4 separate regions of the Homo sapiens genome follow, and all the other regions are linked to region 1. The links are contacts of gene promoters, found by promoter capture Hi-C in blood cells and fetal thymus (Javierre and others, 2016). All regions are on one chromosome and are shown on one strand. The core of a region is centred on a gene start or on the middle of the fragment in contact, and the rest is flanking DNA. Distances in the headings are between cores, read along the strand shown.

Evidence for each region. Contacts are between HindIII fragments. The CHiCAGO score rates a contact against its expected background, and 5 or more counts as called.
Region 2: a contact is called between a fragment that was not itself captured here and the fragment with the promoter of SH3D21 in region 1, in 3 of 17 cell types (endothelial precursors, activated CD4 T cells and non-activated CD4 T cells). The highest score is 7.1, in endothelial precursors.
Region 3: a contact is called between a fragment that was not itself captured here and the fragment with the promoter of SH3D21 in region 1, in 2 of 17 cell types (erythroblasts and endothelial precursors). The highest score is 6.0, in erythroblasts.
Region 4: a fragment that was not itself captured here is called in contact with the fragment with the promoter of SH3D21 in region 1 in 9 of 17 cell types (M1 macrophages, M2 macrophages, erythroblasts and 6 more); the score reaches 7.3 in M1 macrophages.

The regions. Positions count from the first base shown.
Region 1 is chr1:36,304,419-36,309,174 of GRCh38, reverse strand. It overlaps SH3D21 (SH3 domain containing 21), which reads right to left and starts at 2,807. Exons shown (of 16, transcript NM_001162530.2): 1 at 2,751-2,807; 2 at 2,420-2,577; 3 at 2,270-2,333; 4 at 1,890-2,008; 5 at 1,568-1,658; 6 at 1,350-1,405; 7 at 1,212-1,257; 8 at 966-1,066; 9 at 700-786. The coding sequence starts at 2,754. THRAP3 (thyroid hormone receptor associated protein 3) reads right to left here. Exons shown (of 12, transcript NM_005119.4): 12 at 3,818-4,756. RefSeq lists enhancers at 1,907-1,956, 1,759-2,559 and silencers at 2,057-2,496, 2,717-2,766. The HindIII fragment of the contact is 29,085 bases long and covers 1-3,125 here.
Region 2 is chr1:36,092,165-36,096,920 of GRCh38, reverse strand. It overlaps ADPRS (ADP-ribosylserine hydrolase), which reads right to left. Exons shown (of 6, transcript NM_017825.3): 5 at 4,399-4,499; 6 at 2,989-3,824. The coding sequence ends at 3,535. It overlaps COL8A2 (collagen type VIII alpha 2 chain), which reads left to right. Exons shown (of 4, transcript NM_005202.4): 4 at 1-1,682. Among named protein-coding and RNA genes, the nearest start is that of ADPRS, 5.7 kb to the right of the region's middle. The HindIII fragment of the contact is 2,490 bases long and covers 1,530-4,019 here.
Region 3 is chr1:36,113,679-36,118,434 of GRCh38, reverse strand. COL8A2 (collagen type VIII alpha 2 chain) reads left to right here. Exons shown (of 4, transcript NM_005202.4): 2 at 2,683-2,727. Among named protein-coding and RNA genes, the nearest start is that of COL8A2, 9.2 kb to the left of the region's middle. RefSeq lists enhancers at 2,565-3,505, 3,506-4,446. The HindIII fragment of the contact is 654 bases long and covers 1,983-2,636 here.
Region 4 is chr1:36,440,498-36,445,253 of GRCh38, reverse strand. All of the region lies in intron 1 of OSCP1 (organic solute carrier partner 1), which reads left to right. It overlaps LOC107984940 (a long non-coding RNA gene), which reads right to left. Exons shown (of 3, transcript XR_001737976.2): 2 at 521-653. Among named protein-coding and RNA genes, the nearest start is that of OSCP1, 7.6 kb to the left of the region's middle. The HindIII fragment of the contact is 1,167 bases long and covers 1,771-2,937 here.

The DNA of each region.
Region 1 (4,756 bases), core at 1,558-4,057:
GAAACTTTCTGAGTACCAACATAACGCCTTAAGTGGAAAATTCCACACCTGACCTAACTCATGTGACAGGTCTCAGTCAAAATTTGTTTCATGCACAAAATTATTAAAACTACTGCACAAAATCACCTTCAGGCTATGGCTTAAGGTGTATATGAAACATAAATGAATTTCGTGTTTAGGTTGGGGTCCCATTCCCAAGCTATCTTTTTTTTTTTTTCTTTTTGAGATAGAGTCTTGCTCTTGTTGCCTAGGCTGGAGTGCAATGGCACAATCTCGGCTCACTGCAACCTCCGCCTCCTGAGTAGCTGGGATTACACATGCATGCCACCACGCCCAGCTAATTTTTGTATTTTTAGTAAAGATGGGGTTTCACCATGTTGGCCAGGCTAGTCTTGAACTCCTGACTTTGTGATCCACCCGCCTCGGCCTCCCAAAAGTGCTGGGATTACAGGCGTGAGCCACCGTACCCGGCAGCTATCTCATGTATATGCAAAAATTCCCAAATCCGAAACACTTCTGGTCCCAAGCCTTTTGGATAAGCGATACTCAACCGGTATTAGAATCCAAAAGGAGCCCCCACATGTCTAGGTCCACCCTCATTTAGTGACCCTCCAGCTAGGTCCGGAGAGTGCCCATGATCCCCACCTTTGTCCAAAATAGCCTGCCCCTGCCACCTGAGTGTCTTGGCTCTGTACTCACTGGGGGTGGTGGGAGTACAAAGTTGTCTGGAAAAACTCCTCTTCGTCCTTGACACTCTCCTTCCCACCAGCCCTTATCCTCTGTGGTCTGGAAAAGAAACACGCCAGTGGGGAGGTGAGCCAGGTCCCCCAAGGTCCTTTCCGGGGTCCCACTCCTTCTTATGGATATAATTTCAACGTTTATTTTAGATTCAGGGGGTACATGTGCAGGTCTACCCTTTCTCAACACCGGCTTCCCTGGGCCCCCCCACCCTGTTCGTCTCACACCTTGCTGAGTACTTTTACCACGTCCCCCCTCCGCAGCGCCAACTCGTCTGGGGCCTCAGGCTGGTAGTCAAACAGGACCCTGTAGACCTCAGGGTGGGAGACTGGGAAGAGGTCAGTCCACTGTCCTCTGAAGCCAAGCCTCCCCCATCCATCAGCAGCCCCCACCTCCATCAGCCTAGCTGGCCCACCAAGTCACAACCTTGGGAGTGGCTGAGGGAGTGGGGGACCCTTTGGATGGGTGCTCACCTGTCTGCAGGTAGTCTGGAGGGCTGTCATAGGCCAGGCTGCTCAGCTAGTGGGGGAAGGGGCAGGGAGGAACTAGATGAGCCTCCAACCACCCCAAGAGGAACTCACCACCTCTGTGCCTACTCTGAGCCAACTTACCTTGGGAGGCCGCTGGGGACCAGGGCTGACTGAAGGCATGTCTGGGTTACCAAGGCCTAGTGGGGGACAGTGAGGTTAGGGAGGGTGCTAATTCACAGGTTAGGTCATGGGAGAGGGTCAGAGGGGTCACAGGGTCAGGATATGTGAATCACAGGCTCATGCCACTGGGAGGGTCATTGGAGATTGCGAGTCACAGGGTCACAGAGTCGAGGTCTCACTTGGGGGCCCACTGTCCAGCAATTCCACAAAGTTGGATGGGAAGGCTCCCAGCTGCCCGTTCTTCTTCCCCAGCCACCAGCCGTCCTCAATCTGGGGAGAGGGGAGGACGCAGAGGCGTCTGGTTCTGCCCCAAGAGTCCCTAGGATAATCTGCCACCCTTGGTTCTGCCCAAGCGCCCCTTCCTCCCTCCTTCCCTCCCGCGCTTCCCCGTATCTGCACCGTCGCCATTCCCACCGTCCACACCCTCACTTCCCACCCCGCTCACTAGGGAGGCGCGTTCCATCATCCTCCCCCAAACGGTCCCATCACCTCACCCCTCACCTCCTTTATCATTTCCACGATCTCCCCAGCTTGCAGCTTCAGCTCGTCCGCCTGCTCTGGGCTGTAGCTGAAGTTCACTTTGCACCATCTTTGGGGCCTCGGGTGTTTGGCAGGATGACCTAGCACCGGACAAGCGCGGCTGAGCTCCAGTCGGACGCCCCAGTCAGAGGAGCTGGGGGAAGCGCAAGGCGCGCACGTAGCCTTTGGTCCCTCCAGCCCCGCCCCAGGGCGGAGCATTGCACTCGAGAACCAATCACAGACCGCAGGGCGGCCCCGAGGTCCCGCCCAGAGCCGCGCCCGTCACTAAGAGCCGGAGACGCCGGGGTCGCACTGGCTCCGTGCACCCGCCCACCGGCGCCCGTCCCCGCCCTTGCGCTCACCTCGGCGGCGCGCACAGCGCGGCCTCCGCGCCTCTCCGGAGCCCCGCAGGGTCTCTGGGATCTCCTGGGAATCAGGGCACGGGGAAGGCGCTCTCAGCTCCCGGGGGGCGCGCGCTGAGACCCCACAGCCCGCCCCTGGCTCGGCCTCACCTGCACCAGGCGCTCGGGGAAGAGGCCATAGCGGCCCCCAAACTCTCCGCGAAGCCAGCCCCGCGCGGGCACCCAGCGCACCTGCCGGACCACGTCCCCGGGCGCCAGACTCAGCTCGTCCTCCTTCTGCGCGCGGTATCCGGCCAGGACGAGGACTTCTGCGGGCGGAAGACGGGGCCGGCGTGCGGCTCAGAAAGGCCCAGCCGGGCAGCCTGGCTAGGGCGGGCGTGTCCCCAAGCACCGTAGAGGGCAGCGGGGGTCGGGGGGTGGTGTGGGCTCTTGCTATGTCCACGGTTGCAGAGAGAGGCCACCTCAAAGCCTCCGCACTTACCCATGGTTTCCGGGGCGCCCTCCAGAGCCTGGCAGCTCCCTCTGACGGCCGAGTACTGGGCCCGCGCAGGGTGCGACCTGAGGCAAGACAGTAGGGTAAAGGAGGCGTAGCCGCCAGCCGATAGGTCGGGCCAGGTGCTGGGAGTGGGTGTGGAGAGGGGGCGGCCCGGCTCAGCAGGTCCGGCCCCCAACCCCGGGGTGAGGAGGACTCCAGGGTCTCTGGCCTGTGCAGCGGTCACAGCTCCGTCACAGGTTCTTCCGCCCACCTAAATTTTAGGCCAGCCGCCTCTCCCTTTCCCTCAGCTTTTGCCCGGAGGCTCCCAGCTACAATTTGCACAGAGCCTTTCCAGGCCCACCCTTCCCCAGCTCACAAGCTTTTGGCTTGAGGGGAAAAGGTGGGGAGAGGCACATACCAGGGTGGGGCCCCCCAGCAAGTAGCAACCGCTCTAAACCGGCCTTGAGTGAATGAAGTGGCTGCCCTTGTACCAGCAATAGCTTTGAGTGGACACTTCCAGTCTGCTTTCCTTCAAGGCGTACTCCTCTCTGGCCCCGTACCCACTCTCTACCCCCATATAGGAAGGACACAGCAAAGACCCCTGCTTTGGGGCCAGAGGTCTAGTTTGGTTTCAGAAAACACCTCCAGGTTTTCCCTGGGAGTTAGGCCGGGAGAATGAATTTTACCAGCTTCCAAGATTTCTGCTCACAGTTGAGTCCCCAGCCGGCAGGAGTCTGAAGGTTAGGGCCCACCCTATGGCCAGTCCATGTGGGATAGGCTCTTTCAGGTAGAAGGCTGAGCCTACTAACCACATCCCTTGATCCCTGCCCCACCACCATGATGAAGGAAGCCAAAGTCCTTGCCTATGACACCAGTGGAAAAAATCTGTTTCTCCTGGGGTGTCCAAGGTACACAATGCTCCTCCCAGGAAGGACTGTGTCTGTCTGGGACTCCAGCAGCCTGCGCAAGGCCCCACAGGCCCTTTGTCTTTCAGGTTTTCTGAAACTGCCGTGGGAAGTTATCTACCACCCTCAACACACACACACACTCAGGATGACAATGAACAGAACCCGTTTACATCTGCCACTTCATTTATTTTATTTGCAGGAGGAGTTGAAACAAATTTTAAGGGAGATTTTCATTTTCCCCCTAAACATGAATCATTCAAGTAAAACCAACTTAACTATAGAAATGTAGCAAAGTAAGGGGAAAGCAGCACAACAACGCAAGAGGCAAAGGCTGGGGGGGAGAGGTGGGTGCAGTCCGCATATAACATATGCATAAATGCCTTATGATTCACCTGCTCAGGACCGCCTCCCCAGAAGGCAAGCACAAGGACCCATTTTAAGAGGATGTTTCCCCCCAAACATCTGAGAATGCTTCAACTTAAACAGCTTAAGGTTAAAAAGACAAAGAAAAAAAAAAAGAAACCCAAAAAAACCCCTGAACCACCCAGCCATAACCACCTTCCTTAATCGATCATAGGAGTTTCTTTTCATTTTATAAAAAGATTAATAAAAAATATTGAAAAAATTTTCTCATATTTGTAAAGATAATAGAATTCATAAGTTTCTTAGAAAACAGACCAGACACTGCCCTCCAGTTTCCACCCCGTTGCTGGGAGGATCAGCAGGACTAGAAAGTTTGGGATACTGGAGCTGCTGGTGGAGAACGGGGAAGTCCAGCCCAGAAGAAATCAGGAAATAGGGCTCAGGGGCACGTGAGGTGTGGTAAGGAGCAACTCCACGTGATACATGGCTGCGCAGAAAAGGGGAACACAAGGTGGTCGGAAAGGCCTTAAACTCCTCCTTGACATACAAAACCGGTTTTTACAAAGATCCAAGCAGTTTGGTCCCAAACTGAGGTGAACACTTCAAAGTTTATTCACATGCTTTTGTTTTCTCTTTCAAGAATCAAAGTTTCCCAAATTAAATGTTTCTAATATTACTACATATGCCTAAAAAAAGAAAAAAAAAAAAAAAAAGGAGGGGGCTTTTAAAATCAGGACAGGG
Region 2 (4,756 bases), core at 1,525-4,024, 210 kb after region 1:
GGAAGGCAGTTTGTGAGGGCTTGGGGCACAGACCTGGGGCAGGAGGCAGCTCTTCACGTTCATCCCTGTCTCTCCCGGGCTGCCCCCGCCAGCTCTGGCTGTTTAGCTTGAGGGCAGCACAGAGGCCCCTGGGACACCTACAGGCCAGAAAGATCAACCTCTGTGAAGTGTCTAGAAGTATCTAGTGCAGATGGTGGCGGAGGCAGAATCGACCATCAGCAAACATGAGCACTCTTCCCTTTCTCCCCTTCCACCTGCTGCGGGCTGGGCTGGTTTTCTCAATACAAAATTGTAAGAGGATCCTTGTCACCCCAGCCAGGTATCCCCAAGGCAGAGCACCTCTCGTTTGGCCCTCTGAACAAGGTGCACGCGAGCTGGGGGATGAAGACGGCTCCCACTTCCTTTTCCTTAATAAGAACCATATGGTGGGTGTATGTGTGTACAAGAGGGGTTCATCTGTGGGGGCTTCCTCTCCTTCCACCCTCTGGTTCCAATTTCCTGTTCTAAGCAGGACTAGGGCCCAGGAGGCTAAGGCTGGGAGAGAAAGGGTGCCAACAGGTCCCTTGGGAATGAGTTGGCTCTGGACGTTTCTGCCCTGTTCCCCGATCAGAGCTCCTCTGCAGGAAACAGGCAGGATGCCCCTCCCAACCCCTCAGTCCCTACGTCAAGCGGAGTGGATAAGGCTGAGATGAGTGCTGGGAGTGGTGGACATTCCTGCTCGTGCAAAGATGGCCACTTTCCCCGCAGCTGCAGGGCCTCGCGCTCGGCCCTCGCCAGGCCAGCCCCACTCCTTGTACCAAGTGTGAACTGGGGTCATTCGGTCTGTGATCTCGTTGCACTGCTCCAAGTCTGGCTGTGTCCAGGCGGTCCATGTTGAAAATGGAGGATGGCTGCTGACTTCTGACTGGCTGAGCAGTGGGTTCCTTCAGGTTCCTTGCCAACCCTCCTCCCCTGCCCACAACTTCTCCAAACAAAGCAGGCTGTTTGCTCACTTCTTCAAAAGGAGGAATGATAACCCAAATCTGCCCAAGTGACACTTGAGAAGGTTTTGGCTGGGGTTCCTGGTGGATTTCTTACTACCTAACGCCCAAGAAAACCAACTAAGGACTCTCAAACCATACCTGGTGGGGGTTCTTCGCTCAACCTCTTCTTCCCTAGGTCAAAGCCACTATCATCTGATGTGTTAGGGATGGGTTCTGATTGGCAGAAATTAATCAGCTCCCAATGGGAGCCCACGGAACTAAGTAGGGTCCCAAGAAAAAAAACGGGAGCTATTTCACAGAGCTGAGCTTCTGCCAAATTTCATTCCTCAAACCTTTCAGGAGGGGTGGTTGGCGTTTCTAAAATGTTTATGGGATTTGAGTTGCAGGTGTCCACTTAACTGACTAGCTTTGATAAACAATGTCAGATTTTAACTATGAAAACGACATTACCTTGTGCATTTTTATATTGATTCCTATTTTTTTTTTAAGATTAAAGTTTAAATGTTTTCCACTAGTCATTTCACTTCTAACTTGGTATAGGAAGCTTAGCTCTCTACATACCTATCATGTGCCCTGTATCACAGAAGATTCAGGAAAAATGCACTTGGGAATCAAAGAAAATGGAACTTCTTTTTGAAAAGACAAGCAACCATGTTAACTGTATTGACACATCCTCAATAAAACCTGTTGTATAAAACAGCACTGTGCTGAAACTGATACTGACACAGAGGTATCTCAAGCCTCTGGGTTCTGTAAGGTGTCCAGGAAGCTCTCTGGGGCTTGTGTGCCTGCTCTTAAGGATCATGCACTCCTCACCAGCTCCCTAACCTGGATTTCTGTCACCACCACATCACAAATGCCTGATGCTCGTAAGCTGCTGAGGCCATGCGCCAGGCAAATGCCAGGAGGCATTTTAAGAAACCAAAGGCAGGTAGTGGCTGGAGCTGGGGGCGATGGCTCAATCTTTACTGGAATATTCCTGCAAGCTCTCAGGGCTAGTGGAGCATGACAGCTGGCTCAGTAGTCCGAGGGCCAAGTTTCAACATCTGATACAAATTATGAATGAAATCATGAATCTTTGCTCCTAAGGGCTGGGCTAGTGTCAGGCCCAGTGCTGAAGACAGGCTGGGGGAGCTGTCCTGGGCGGAAAGCACCTGCTCACAGCCTGCCATGCTCAGCCACGAAAGATCTGTCCCTGGCGCTGGGGGTCTGGGTGGCAGACCTGAAGCAATCTGTGTTTTGAAGAGTCCTCAGCCTAGCCAGAACCCTATCTTCACTAAAACAGATCTGCCCGAGAGTGCTGAAACCGCAGGGCAGCTGCAGACTGCACATGCTCGGCTAGCCACTGAGGCTGGATGCTCAGAGAATGTCCCTGGAGTTTGAGGGGAGGCATCTTCCCCCTTTCAATTTTCCCTTCTTCAGAATGGATGCTAGTCTCAGATACTTGGGAACCCATGTGGGAGGATCGCCTGTGCAATAGAGTGAGACCCCATCTCTAAAAACATGCTGTGTAAAACTTCCTTGCAGGGAAAGGCTTTTGATTGGTCCCAAGATACAGGAGGAGGCACACGGCACTCAGTCCACCCGGGGCCCCGTGATGGTGCCCTCCCCACCCAAAGGTTGGTAGTCTGATGATAGCAGGGCCCTCTGGATCCTTCTACAGGGTTCCTGTTCCTGGCCCAGCTGGGCCTAGCTCCTGTTTGGGGAAGTCAGGCTCTGAGAACAGAAAAATCTGGCTTGTTCCTACCCGCTGCCTCTGGCAAAGCACTCGGCCCAGCAGCCTGGGCCACTTTGAGTGATCTCTAACAGGAAAAGCCACCAGACCATGCCTGCTGTGCCCTTCCTGGCTGAACACGCAGCCAGCTGGAGTGCCTGGCAACACAGCAGCTCATGGCCTTGGGGCCCCAGCTTCTATGACAGTGCAGCACAGACAAAGGCACTAGTCTTCAGAGATCAGGCTGGCAGGGGAGAATCCATTCAGGGCAGGAGAAACAAGAAACAGTGGTGAGATTTACCAAAAACTGTTTATTGCGACTTCCACTGGAAGCTGTTAATAAGCCACATGGCAGCCAAGAGCCAGGTGTGACCTAGATCAGCTGGATGCAAGTGCCTGTCCCTTCATCCACACAACCTGCTGCTCGGGGACCCTGCTAGGATGCGCTTGCTGGCAAACTGGCTAAAACCCAACAGGGAGAAATGATGCTACTGCTCATCATTTCCACCTCCCCACATCCCATGTCCAAGACAATACAGGAAAATGCCACAAGTACCCCTCCAAAATAAACCCGCCTGCGTCTGTCTGTCCTACTGAGGAGCCAGGAGTGTCCTACGGCTCTGCAGCAAACCAGAGACCCAGCACCAGCGAGGCACCAGTCCCTTGCTCGCTGTTCCAGTGACCTCCCCTGCAGAGACCCCAGCCTCACCGGTGTACTCAGTCAGCTCCACAATGCAGGAAAAGTGGGAAGCCACACTCAAGGAAGCGCAGGGTTTCTGATTGGAGCTGTAGTTGGTCCCAGGGGACCTGGCAGAGCCCCAACAGCTGTAGCCCTCATCAACTCTTCTGGAAGACACGGTGCAGGCTTTGGGCCAGGATGTCTGTCTCCTCGTAGCCTTCACAGCTTTGCTGCCAGCTCTCTGGCACCTGATCCATCCCATAGTAGGCACCAGCAATGGCCCCAGCCATGGTGGCAATGGTGTCTGTGTCCCCACCAAGTGAGATGGAATAAATGAGAGTCCTTTGGAGGCTATTGAAGGCAGAAGGGATCTCAGGGTCTGGCTCCATGCAGCGTAGGAAGCAGTAGATGGCGGTGGGTACCGACTCAAAGGCAGCAATGCCATTCCCTGTGGGGAAGCCAGGTTAGAGGGGCTGCATGCTTCCCCAGGCCTCCTACCATTTGACACAAGTCAGCACTCTCGGCTTCAAGCAGGCTGTGACTAAGATCTCAGGCTCTACAGTTAGACCACCTGGGCTCAAATCCTGGCTCCACCACACACTGGCTGCGTGACTGGGAGAGTTACCTAGGGGACCGCTAAGCTTCCTGCTCCCAGATTCAACTCCTTAAGCAGACAGGGAGTAACGTTAGCAACTCTCTGACAGGGCTGTTGTGAGGATGAAGCGAGATCGTGTCTGTGAAGCATTCTGCACAACGCCCAGTATAGATGCTAGACAAATAAAATCCATTATCAACATTTTTACGACTAGTGGCCAGCTGCCATTTCTGGGGACACTGGTCCACAAGGCTGAGGGTGCTGTAGCTTCAGAGCAAGAAGCGCTGAGCTCAACCCTGCCATTGACTCCGTGTCACAGCAGCCCAGGGTACAATGCGACGGCAGGCATGACTCCATGCTCCCCTGAGCCCAAGACCGACCCTGAAGGACGACAGAGGGAGAGACAATCCCAGGCAGACCCACTCACCTAGCTCAGACACCACTTCCTCCCTGGTCACCGATGCCTGGTCTAGAAGCTCTCCAATCTTCTTCAGGCGGCTGGAGTATGGACGCTCCTCCATGCCCAACCTGTGGTTTAGGGGAGATTTCAGGGAGGTCAGAGCTAGCAGGGTGGTGGCGCGGGCAGGGGAGAGGGCTGCATGTGAGAACGAGCAGGGATGTGGTCAGGCTGGCAGCCAGGCACAGGTGCCGACAAGAGGTGGGAGAGGGCTGGGGTGAGCAGGTCGTTTCGTTCTCTGGGACCCTGAGAGCCTTGAAACATAGACAAGATAAAGGGGCTTCTGCCCATGCCTCCCTAGGGTCTGCAATTGAGGAAGGTTTACAGT
Region 3 (4,756 bases), core at 1,060-3,559, 190 kb after region 1:
GGCACCTGATAGTAGCTGCCCACTCTGCTCCCAGCCTTGCCTGTCCCTGGTGCCATCTAGGTTGAGGCAGCACAGGTGGGGTAGAGCAGGAGTAGGGGGCAGGGCCCGTGGCTGAGGTCTTCAGGGAGCCCAGGTATACAGGGCTTTAGCCACCTGGGGGCCAGGCAGAGCTGGGTTCAGATCCCACCTCCTTCACTTCCTAGCCTGGTTTCCTTAGAGAATGGATGTGACCTCTCTGGGACCCAGTGCTCCTCCTCAGTAAAATGGGACAGCAGTTCCAACCTTCCAGGGTTACAGGAGCCAATAGTGCCAGGAGTGTGCCTAGTGCTATGTCCAGTGCATACAATGAACTTGGGATGCAGACACCGTTGTTCTTAACGGTTAACATGGGGGAAGGGAATGGGGAAGCAGCTTTAGGTAGGATCCGCATCTCTGATCCTGATATTCAAGGCATTTCTCAGTCTGGCCCCAGCCAGGTCTCCTCTCCTCAAATCATCTGTATGGTGAAAAGCCTAGGCTTTGGAGCCTGCAGCCAGGGTTCAAATTCAGGTTCTACTTTTTTTTTTTTTTTTTAAGAGATGGGGGTATCACTATGTTGCCCAGGCTGGACTCAAACTCCTGAACTCAAGTGATTCTCCTGCCTTGGCCTCCCAAAGTGCTGGGATTACAGGTGTGAGCCACTGTGCCCAGCTCCAGGCTCTACTTTTCATGAGCTGTGTGATGTTGGGCCAGTTACTTATCCTCTCTGTCCCTTAGTTTTCTCATCTGTAAAAAGGGAAGATGAAATACTTTTGTCACTGGGTTGTTGTGAGGATTAAATGAGATAATTCATGAGAACACCCAGAACGGTACCTGGCACACAGTGGGTACACAATGAATATTAGCTATGATTAGTTAGTTCATGTGTTTGTCTATTTTATTTGGATTCTCTCCATCCCCTGAATATATTCAGGGCTTTTACACTCTCACACATGCTGTTGCCTTGGCCCAGGACTGATCACCTCTCTCCACTACCAACCAGTTAAATCCATGTTCATCCTTCAAAGCCCAGAGCCAGCTTAAGTCATTTCTTCTCCCAGAGTCTCATGGTGCAGGGACGGGGCTGGGGCCGGAGAAGCTGGGGCTAAGCTGAGCTGGAGGGTCCTCCTACCTGGGCTCCATCATCCAGGCTGTGGCCCCATGACCCAGCTCTGGGGTCATAGTGTTCAGAGTGGCAGGATGGAGGCAGGGCTCAGCTGAGTTGGAGAGAAGGCCTAGTTGCTGCTGGCTCCAGCATCTGGCTGCTTGTGCAGCTACAGACAGGACTGGATGTCAGAGTTTCCATGGGAGCAGGCAGAGGCAAGCAAGCAGCTGGGGGAGAGAGTGACGCGGCCTGCAGGCCTCCCTGCCAGGTGGGCTGGCTGGGCATCCCCTCCCCATCTACCCCGGAGTCATGTCTGGGTCTGGACTTTAGCTCTGGATCCTCTGCGTACAGCTATGTGACCTGGACTACGACTTTTGTTAGATCCTGGCACCACACCTGATTGAGGCAGAAATGGGGACCTAGCCATCCAGGGCTCTGACCACATCACTTCCCCCACTAAATAACCCTCCATGGCTCCCCATTGCTCTCCAGAGAAATGCAAGCATGGCATTCAGATTTCCTCACCATGTTGCCCCAGCCTCCCCATCCCACAGCACTTCTGGACCTTCCCTGTATATTACTACCTGAAATTCCTTCTATCACCTCATCTGCCTTTCAGACTCCGACTCATCCTTCAGGACCCAGCTGCAGTGTCCCTTTCTCCATGAAGCCTTCAGGGGAAGCTTAAGTCGGCAGTATTCCCTGCTTCATGCTCCCACAGCCCAGAGATCTTTGCCAATTGTGTGATGACCGCTTGTCTGATGCCCCCAGCCCTTCAGGGCAAGGCAGGGCAGGGTATGGGGTTGAACCATTTCTGTGGTCCATGACCCAGGCTTGGGTCCTCCACATAGTAGAAGCTTCCCCAGCAGGGATCCTAACCCAAAGTAGGGGCCACCCCAAACCAGAGCTGACATATGGGAGGGACTTCTCCAGCATGGGAACCCGGGACACAGAAGGGGCATCCTCAGCCTGGGCCCTAGGACAGTAGGAACTCCTTGAATCCAGGGCCAGGCACCCCGTGGGTATTGCTAAGTGTGCACTGAATGAATGGAGTTGTGGAGTATGGGGCACATACCCTGCTTCCCTCAGGGGAGGAGGGAACTGAGAAGAGAGACTGAGACTGGGGCCGGGTTTCCAGCAGGGGGTTCTGGTAAGAAGCCCGGGGCAGGCACTGGTGTGGCTGTGGGTTAGGGCAGGAGGCTTCCCAGGCTCCTGATGTCATCGTCTCACTGTTCCTCCTTTTTTTTTTTTTTGAGACAGAGTCTTGCCCTGTCTCAGGAGTGCAGTGGTGCAATCATAGCTTACTGCAGTCTTGAACTCCTGGGCTCAAGCAATACCACCCACCTCAGCCTCCTAAGTAGCTGGGACTATAGGCGTGCACCATCATGCCCAGCTAATTTTTTAAAATTTTTAGTACAGACAATGTCTCCCTATGTTGCCCAGGCTGGTCTCAAACTCCTGGGCTCAAGCAGTCTTCCCACCTTAGCCTCCCAAAGTGCTGGGATTACAAGCTTGAGCCACTGCCCCATAGCCTCACTGTTTCTCTTGTTCATCCTCAGGCCCTGCCTCTGCTGGAACCTTCCCAGGCCCCTCCGACCTGAAAGGTAAGCTAGGTTTGGGGATGGGGTTTTCTGATATCTCAGGCCAGATGAGGCCTGTGTTCATTGCTGTCTAACCTCACTCCCTCCTGCTGCACCGGAAGCCCCTCCCAGGCCCAGAGAGTCCTGTGAGCCACCCCTTTTGTATGTGACCTCAGCTCCCTGCAGCCCGGGCTTTAAAACCCTGGCCCAACTCGGAAGCAGCTTTTTCTCATTTGTGAACTATTTCGCCTGGCTCCTTGGCGGGGCCGTGTTTGCTTGGCCCAGCCTGGGTGCAGTGGCCTGGCTGTGCTCCCGCCAGGCCCCCTCCCTGCCCAGCCCAGCCCCTCCTGCTGCCGCTGCTGCCGCCACCACGCAGGGTAGCCGCAGAGGCCCAGGAATCTTGGCAGGCGTGGGGAGGCAGCGGGTGGCGGGTGGCGCTCCGGAAAAGGCTGCAAATGCGAACCAGAAGGTGAGGGATTGGAGGCTGAGGAGGCCCCGCCTGCCCCTGCCTGAGGCCTGGGGGTGGCTGGGTCTGTAGGGGCCCTCGGATGTCCAGTTCCCATCAGAAGCTCAAGGCCTCTGCTGGGAGGCAAGCGACGGCCCCAGCTGAGGCCGGAGCCCCTGGGTGGGGAAGGGCCAGCTGCCTGGCTACCTGCCTGAGGGTACATGGCTGCCCTCAGGTCTGCCCACTGCCGGGCCTTTTCTAGTCCATCTGCCCCTGCCCGGCTGTTCTTACCTTCCTGGGCACTTTGTTATTCTGAGATGCTCCTCCCTAGGGAAGCAGCGGAGAACCTAGACTCAGAGATGGGCAGAGGCCAGGGGCTTGGTCACCTGCAGGAGGGAGTTCGGTCCAAGCCCCCTCCAGCCCAGAACCAAGAAGGACTCAGGAAGAGCAACAAAGAGAAAGTGGCCCTGTGATAAGCCACCTGAGGGCTTGGCTGGACAAGGGAGGTGGGTTTTTCAGAGGCCTGGACCTGGAGCCCCCAGGCTACAGGCTTCATCGAGCACATGCCCTGTGCCCGCCTCAGGCAGGAGGGAGGTGTGGGTGGGGAAGAGGTGCTTTCATGCAGGTGGGTGCCCAGAAGGAGCTGTTCTGCCTGAGGGAGGCAGGGAAGGCTGCTTGGAGGAGGAGGCTTTTGAGCTGGGTCTTAAATGAGAACTAATATGTTTCCATGGAGGAGAAAGGTAGAAAGGGCAACCCAGCAGAGAGGATCATGCAGGAAAAGGCAGGGACAGGGAGGCAGTGAGACGTCTGGGTTGTCTGGATCCTAGTGTGTTGGGGGAGGAGCCCAGGGCTGTGGTGGGCTCCACTCACTCCCTAAATGTAGGCGTGTTCCCCAAGGGGGAATCCGTGGGCCTCCTCCAGGCTGCAGCAACCCCGCCAACGAACCTGTATTTTTTTTTTTTTTTTTTGAGATGGAGTCTCGCTCTGTCGCCCAGGTTAGAGTGCAGTGGTGCGATCTTGGCTCACTGCAAGCTCCGCCTCCCAGGTTCCCGCCATTCTCCTTCCTCAGCCTCCCGAGTAGCTGGGACTATAGGCGCCCTCTACCACGCCCAGCTAATTTTTTTGTATTTTTAGTAGAGATGGGGTTTCACCATGTTAGCCAGGATAGTCTTGATCTCCTGACCTCATGATCTGCCTGCCTCAGCCTCCCAAAGTGCTGGGATTACAGGCATGAGCCACCGCGCCCAGCCACGAACCTGTATTTTTACCTCTAGCCCATGTCTCTCTCCCGAGTTCCAGAGCCCCAGGTTCACTGCTCCTTGGTTGCCCCCCTACCCTGGAAGCCTTCCTCATCCAGTCATTTGCTCTGATTTCAGCTTGGACCGTCCCACCATCACCTGCCCCCGTGGGCCTGTTGAACTCTGATCTCTCCTTCAAGCCTCCTTCCGATGCTACTTCTGAAACTGAGGCCACTTGTGGTCTGGGAGCCTCACTTGCAGGGGTGAGGGATGTTGGGACTGTTAGGTGGAACTGAAGTCTGGTAGGGCAGACCAGGTGGGCAGGTGGCAGCCCTCCTCTCCTGCCTTCAACCTGGGTGAGAAGGTGGCC
Region 4 (4,756 bases), core at 1,105-3,604, 140 kb before region 1:
TTCAGCCTCCCAAGTAGCTGAGACTATAGGTGTGCACCACCACACCCAGCTAATTTTTGTATTTTTTGTAGAGATGAGGTTTCACCATGTTGGCCAGGCTGGTCTCGAACTCCTGACCTCAGGTGATCCGCCCATCTTGGCCTCCCAAAGTTCTGGGATTACAGGCATGAGCCACTGTGCCTCGCCAAAATGTTTTTGAAATACAGATGTGTATAGAACTTTTTTATCTAGGGGTGGTTCTTCTAGATTGAAATCTCCATCAAAAATTAAGGAAAGGAAAAAAGTCATCTTCCATCCTTTATGGGTGGTGTCTAATGTCCCTCAGTAGAGGAAACAGAACTCAAAGGGAAGCCAGCTAAGTATTTGATGTGTGTTATGCTTTATCCCCACAATAGGCCTGTAAGATAGGTGCTATTATGATCCCTATTTTACGAAGGAAACTGAGGTTAAACAAGTTGCTTGAAGTTTATATAGCCAGTAAGTAGAGCCAGGTTTCAACCCATAGAGTCTTGATTCTCACCGATTTCTCTAGCCAACTGCATTTTTCCTTATTTGGTCTCCTCTTGGGATCTCCCCAGCTGCCTTTGTCCTCAGAAGCTTTCTTCATAGTGGTCCCATCATTATTCGCTTCTTTTTACATGGAAATCATGCATCTATATATATAAAAAGTAAAACAGAAACAAATGCTGACATTTTCCTTTTAATTCACATTTCAAGTTTTCTAATTTGAGCAGTTCCATCTGTCCTCTAGAAAGGGAAATCTTACATTAATAAAAAAAAAAGAAAAGAAAAGAAAACTCAGATTGTATACAAAGAAACTCTTTTCTCTGCCTGTTCTTGGAATTATTCTTCCTCATGGAGGCTAGCGTCTTTAAAAGCCTACTACTGAATGATATGTATTCTTGTAGCATTAGAGAGCGGGGCTTCTTGGGCCTTTCAAGATGAACCACAGGATAGCTAATCCTCCTCAGTTTACTCTCTTCTTAGGCCAGTCTCTGTAAGACATAGCCTTTCTTGAGCTTTTTTGAAATATGTTGTTTATCCATCATCCTTTTAAAGGTTTCAAATAGAAGGCAGTGTGCTCACATTAGACATTAAATGCCAACGTGAAAAGTAAAGTTTCATAGATAAGATCATTGGAATTGGTATGTTTAAAGCCTCCTTGAAAATAATGTTCTTGCTTCATGAACTGGTGTTTTCTTTTTGTATGCTTCATGTAGATGAATGGACAGAGGTGGACAGAAAACGAGGTATGCTATCTCCGGGCTGCATGTGTTCAGTGTGCATCCACAGGTTCACTCAGGCCTTTATCAGCAGGGCTTAAAATGGGACCGCTTGAAACATTTCAAAGTCAAAGTAAGAAAATAGGCATGAGTTTGTCTTTAGCTGAGATATTGGTTATACATTTGAATCTTTTACTTAAGAGGAAGAAATACAGCATGTTAAGATGAAAACTAAGCAAACTCTGACCAAAAAGCCACACTGTACTTGAGGGATATGTCTCCTTTTCTCAGTTCCAAGCTTTGCTGGGACAGCTGGGGCAATAGCCATACTTTGGGGTATGTCATCCTATTTGGTAGTCCTTAAAACAACTTTGTTTTGTCATGTAACCAAAGAATTGTGCTTCAACATGAGTGACCCTCCCTGAGCCATTCTCCTAAGCTCACAGAGCAACCGAGAAAAATTGAAGCATGTAACTGCATGGCTGCCAGGACTGTGGGCAGAAGGCATGACATCATGCATGCAGTGTGGCCTCATCATGCAAAAGCTTCAGTTTCCCCTTACCTACTGCAAGCAGGAAACCTGAAAAAGTTGTCGACTCCTCAGAATAAAGCCTTAGACTTTCTCAGCCTTTAAATAAATCTCAGATACCTTCTGTCATTTGACATTTGGGTGTGGTGTGTGCCTATCATCAGCCATCCTCCTCAATATTTTAAATGCTCTCACCACACCAAGTATGCTGGGAAGACAACCTGTATAATATTTAAGAGGCCAGGTGCAGTGGCTCACACCTGTAATCCCAGCACTTTGGGAATCTGAGGCAGGAGGATCACTTGAGGTCAGGAGTTCGAGGCCAGCCTGGCCAACATGGTGAAACCCTGTCTCTACTAAAAATACAAAAATTACCTGGGCATGGTGGTGGGCACTTATAATCCCAGCTACTTGGGAGACTGAGGCAGGAGAATCACTTGAACCTGGGAGGCAGAGGTTGCAGTGAGCCGAGATCTTGCCACTGCACTCCAGCCTGGGCGACAGAGCGAGACTCCACTTCAAAAATAATAATAATAATAATAATATTTAAAAGCACAGGCATTAAATCAAACAGACCTAATTCTAATTTCAGCTCCATCACCAGCTGTGTGACCTTGGACTTTAAACTCTCTGATTCAGTTTTCCTCCTTAATAGAATGAGGATAATATAAAACGATAAGTGGTCTGGCAGGAAAAAAAAATGAGGATAATAATTCAGAGTTGTCTTGGAGTTTAAATGAGATAATGCATATAAAGTTCTAAGCCCAGTGCCTGGGACATAGAAAGGATTGAAACATGGTAACTATTCAGGAGGGTTTCCTAGCCTCTCTCTAAATTCTTGGCTCCAAATTTCATATTCCCATAAACAAGTCAATTTAGAGCAGAGGTAATTGGTAAAAACTTGATTGCTTTCATCAAGATAATTATTTCATCAGACCAGTCTCGAAAAAAAGCCCAATTGAAGTACTTGGTACACTTTATTACATTTCACAACCATCGTTTGACACTTCTTGAGCAATTTTTGACCCGTCCCTCCCTTGATGCATAGCAGAATTTCAGGTATGAAGTGTGGATTTTGAGAGCTTTTCATATACATAATTGAATCATTGAAATTTATTTTAACATAAATGTTCAAAAATAATGAACAGAAACTGGCTTCATAATCTGAACCCAGGACTAGAAGCTTGCTATGTTGAGAACCCAATTACCAACTTTCTGAGGCTCCTGTGAAAAATCCCTTCCCTCCCCTGCCTTAGCCTCCTTTTTTTTTTTTTTGAGACGGAGTTTCGCTCTTGTTGCCCAGGCTGGAGTGCAATGGAGCGATCCCAGCTCACTACAACCTCCGCTCCCAGGTTCAAGCAATTCTCCTGCCTCAGCCTCCTGAGTAGCTGAGATTACAGGCATGAGCCACCACGCCTGGCTAATTTTGTATTTTTAGTAGAGATGGGGTTTCTCCATGTTGGTCAGGCTGGTCTTGAACTCCCGACCTCAGGTGATCCACCCACCTCGGCCTCCCAAACTGCTGGGATTACAGGCGTGAGCCACTGCGCCCGGCCCCCCTTAGCCTCTTCCTATTGAAATCCGGCTCCTAGTATATTCCGGCCTCGTGAAAAGTATGCAGAACTCATTTGCATGCCAAAAACCAACACTTAGACTAATGGGCGGGTCTGATTAAAACTATTTCTTCAGGGATGTTAGGATGAAGGGAAAAAAATAAAAAACAAATTACTTTTTTTTTTTTTTTTTTTTTTGAGCTGGAGTCTCGCTCTGTTACCCAGGCTGGAGTTCAGTGGCGCGATCTCGGTTCACCGCAAGCTCCGCCTCCCGGGTTCACGCCATTCTCCTGCCTCAGCCTCCCGGTAGCTGGGACTGCAGGCGCCCGCCATCACGCCCGGCTAATTTTTTGTATTTTTTTTTAGTGGAGACGGGGTTTCACAGCGTTAGCCAGGATGGTCTCGATCTCCTGACTTCGTGATCCGCCCGCCTCGGCCTCCCAAAGTGCTGGGATTACAGGCGTGAGCCACCGCGCCCGTACGCTAATTAAATTTTTTAAAAAAACTATTTCTCAGGTTTAACCTAAAGATGATGTGCTGCTTCTCTAGGGCCAGGATAACATCTCCTTCCTCTTTGTGCCTGTGGTGTTTATTTCACTGTCTGGTACCTAATAGGTCTGCCTCAACCAAGGGCTGGGTGAAGCAAATTGTAAGACAAAAACATGTTAACGTGTGCCTCCATCTTATTTCCAAAGAGTGAAACGAGAAGAGGGAGCCCTAGGTGTCGTGGCCCAACCATTAAACTGCCATTTCCTCTTTGGGGGCATTTGTACTCACTGCTCTGCCCACAAGGACAGACCCCGCCGTCCTCTTCCCAGCAGGTGAACTGTCTGGATGCTGGCGCCAGGAGCCATGGTGCTCCAGAGCTTCTTCACTTCCCACGGGGAAAGACTTCATTTTGCTTTTCACTTTGCCCGAGTAGCTAACAATCACCTTGGGGTATTCTTTCGTCCAGAACTGATTTATCTGGGTGTAAGCTATTTCCCTAGCTCCTAATAAGGGCTCAAAGACCCCAGAGAAATGACTCAGCACCTAGGTGAATAGCAGCCCTTTGTAAGCATTAACCTAACCAGAGTTGATGTGATGCTTCAACTTGAATTCTTCTTTGGCACTCCTCCTCCCTGGCTTACGTAAGTCTGTGGAAAATTCTTCATATTCTCTCTTTTGAGGACTTATGTGTGGCTTTTCAATTGTGCCTGTTTCCTTGCAAATGCTACATTTTATGTAGGCTATGGTAAGAAAAAGGTTAGAAAACCCAGTTTATTGCAGGTTCTTTCTTGTTTCAGTGCAATGGAGGTGGTCAGGCATGAGGCAAACCTGACAGAGTTCTATGTCTCTCCAAGCTGTCCACGGTGGGGAAATGTTAGGGCACATCAAGGGCAAGCTGGGATGGTTTGAAATTGTCAGATGTCAGGGACATCCTGTGTTGGTAATGGATTTGGTTCTCCCTC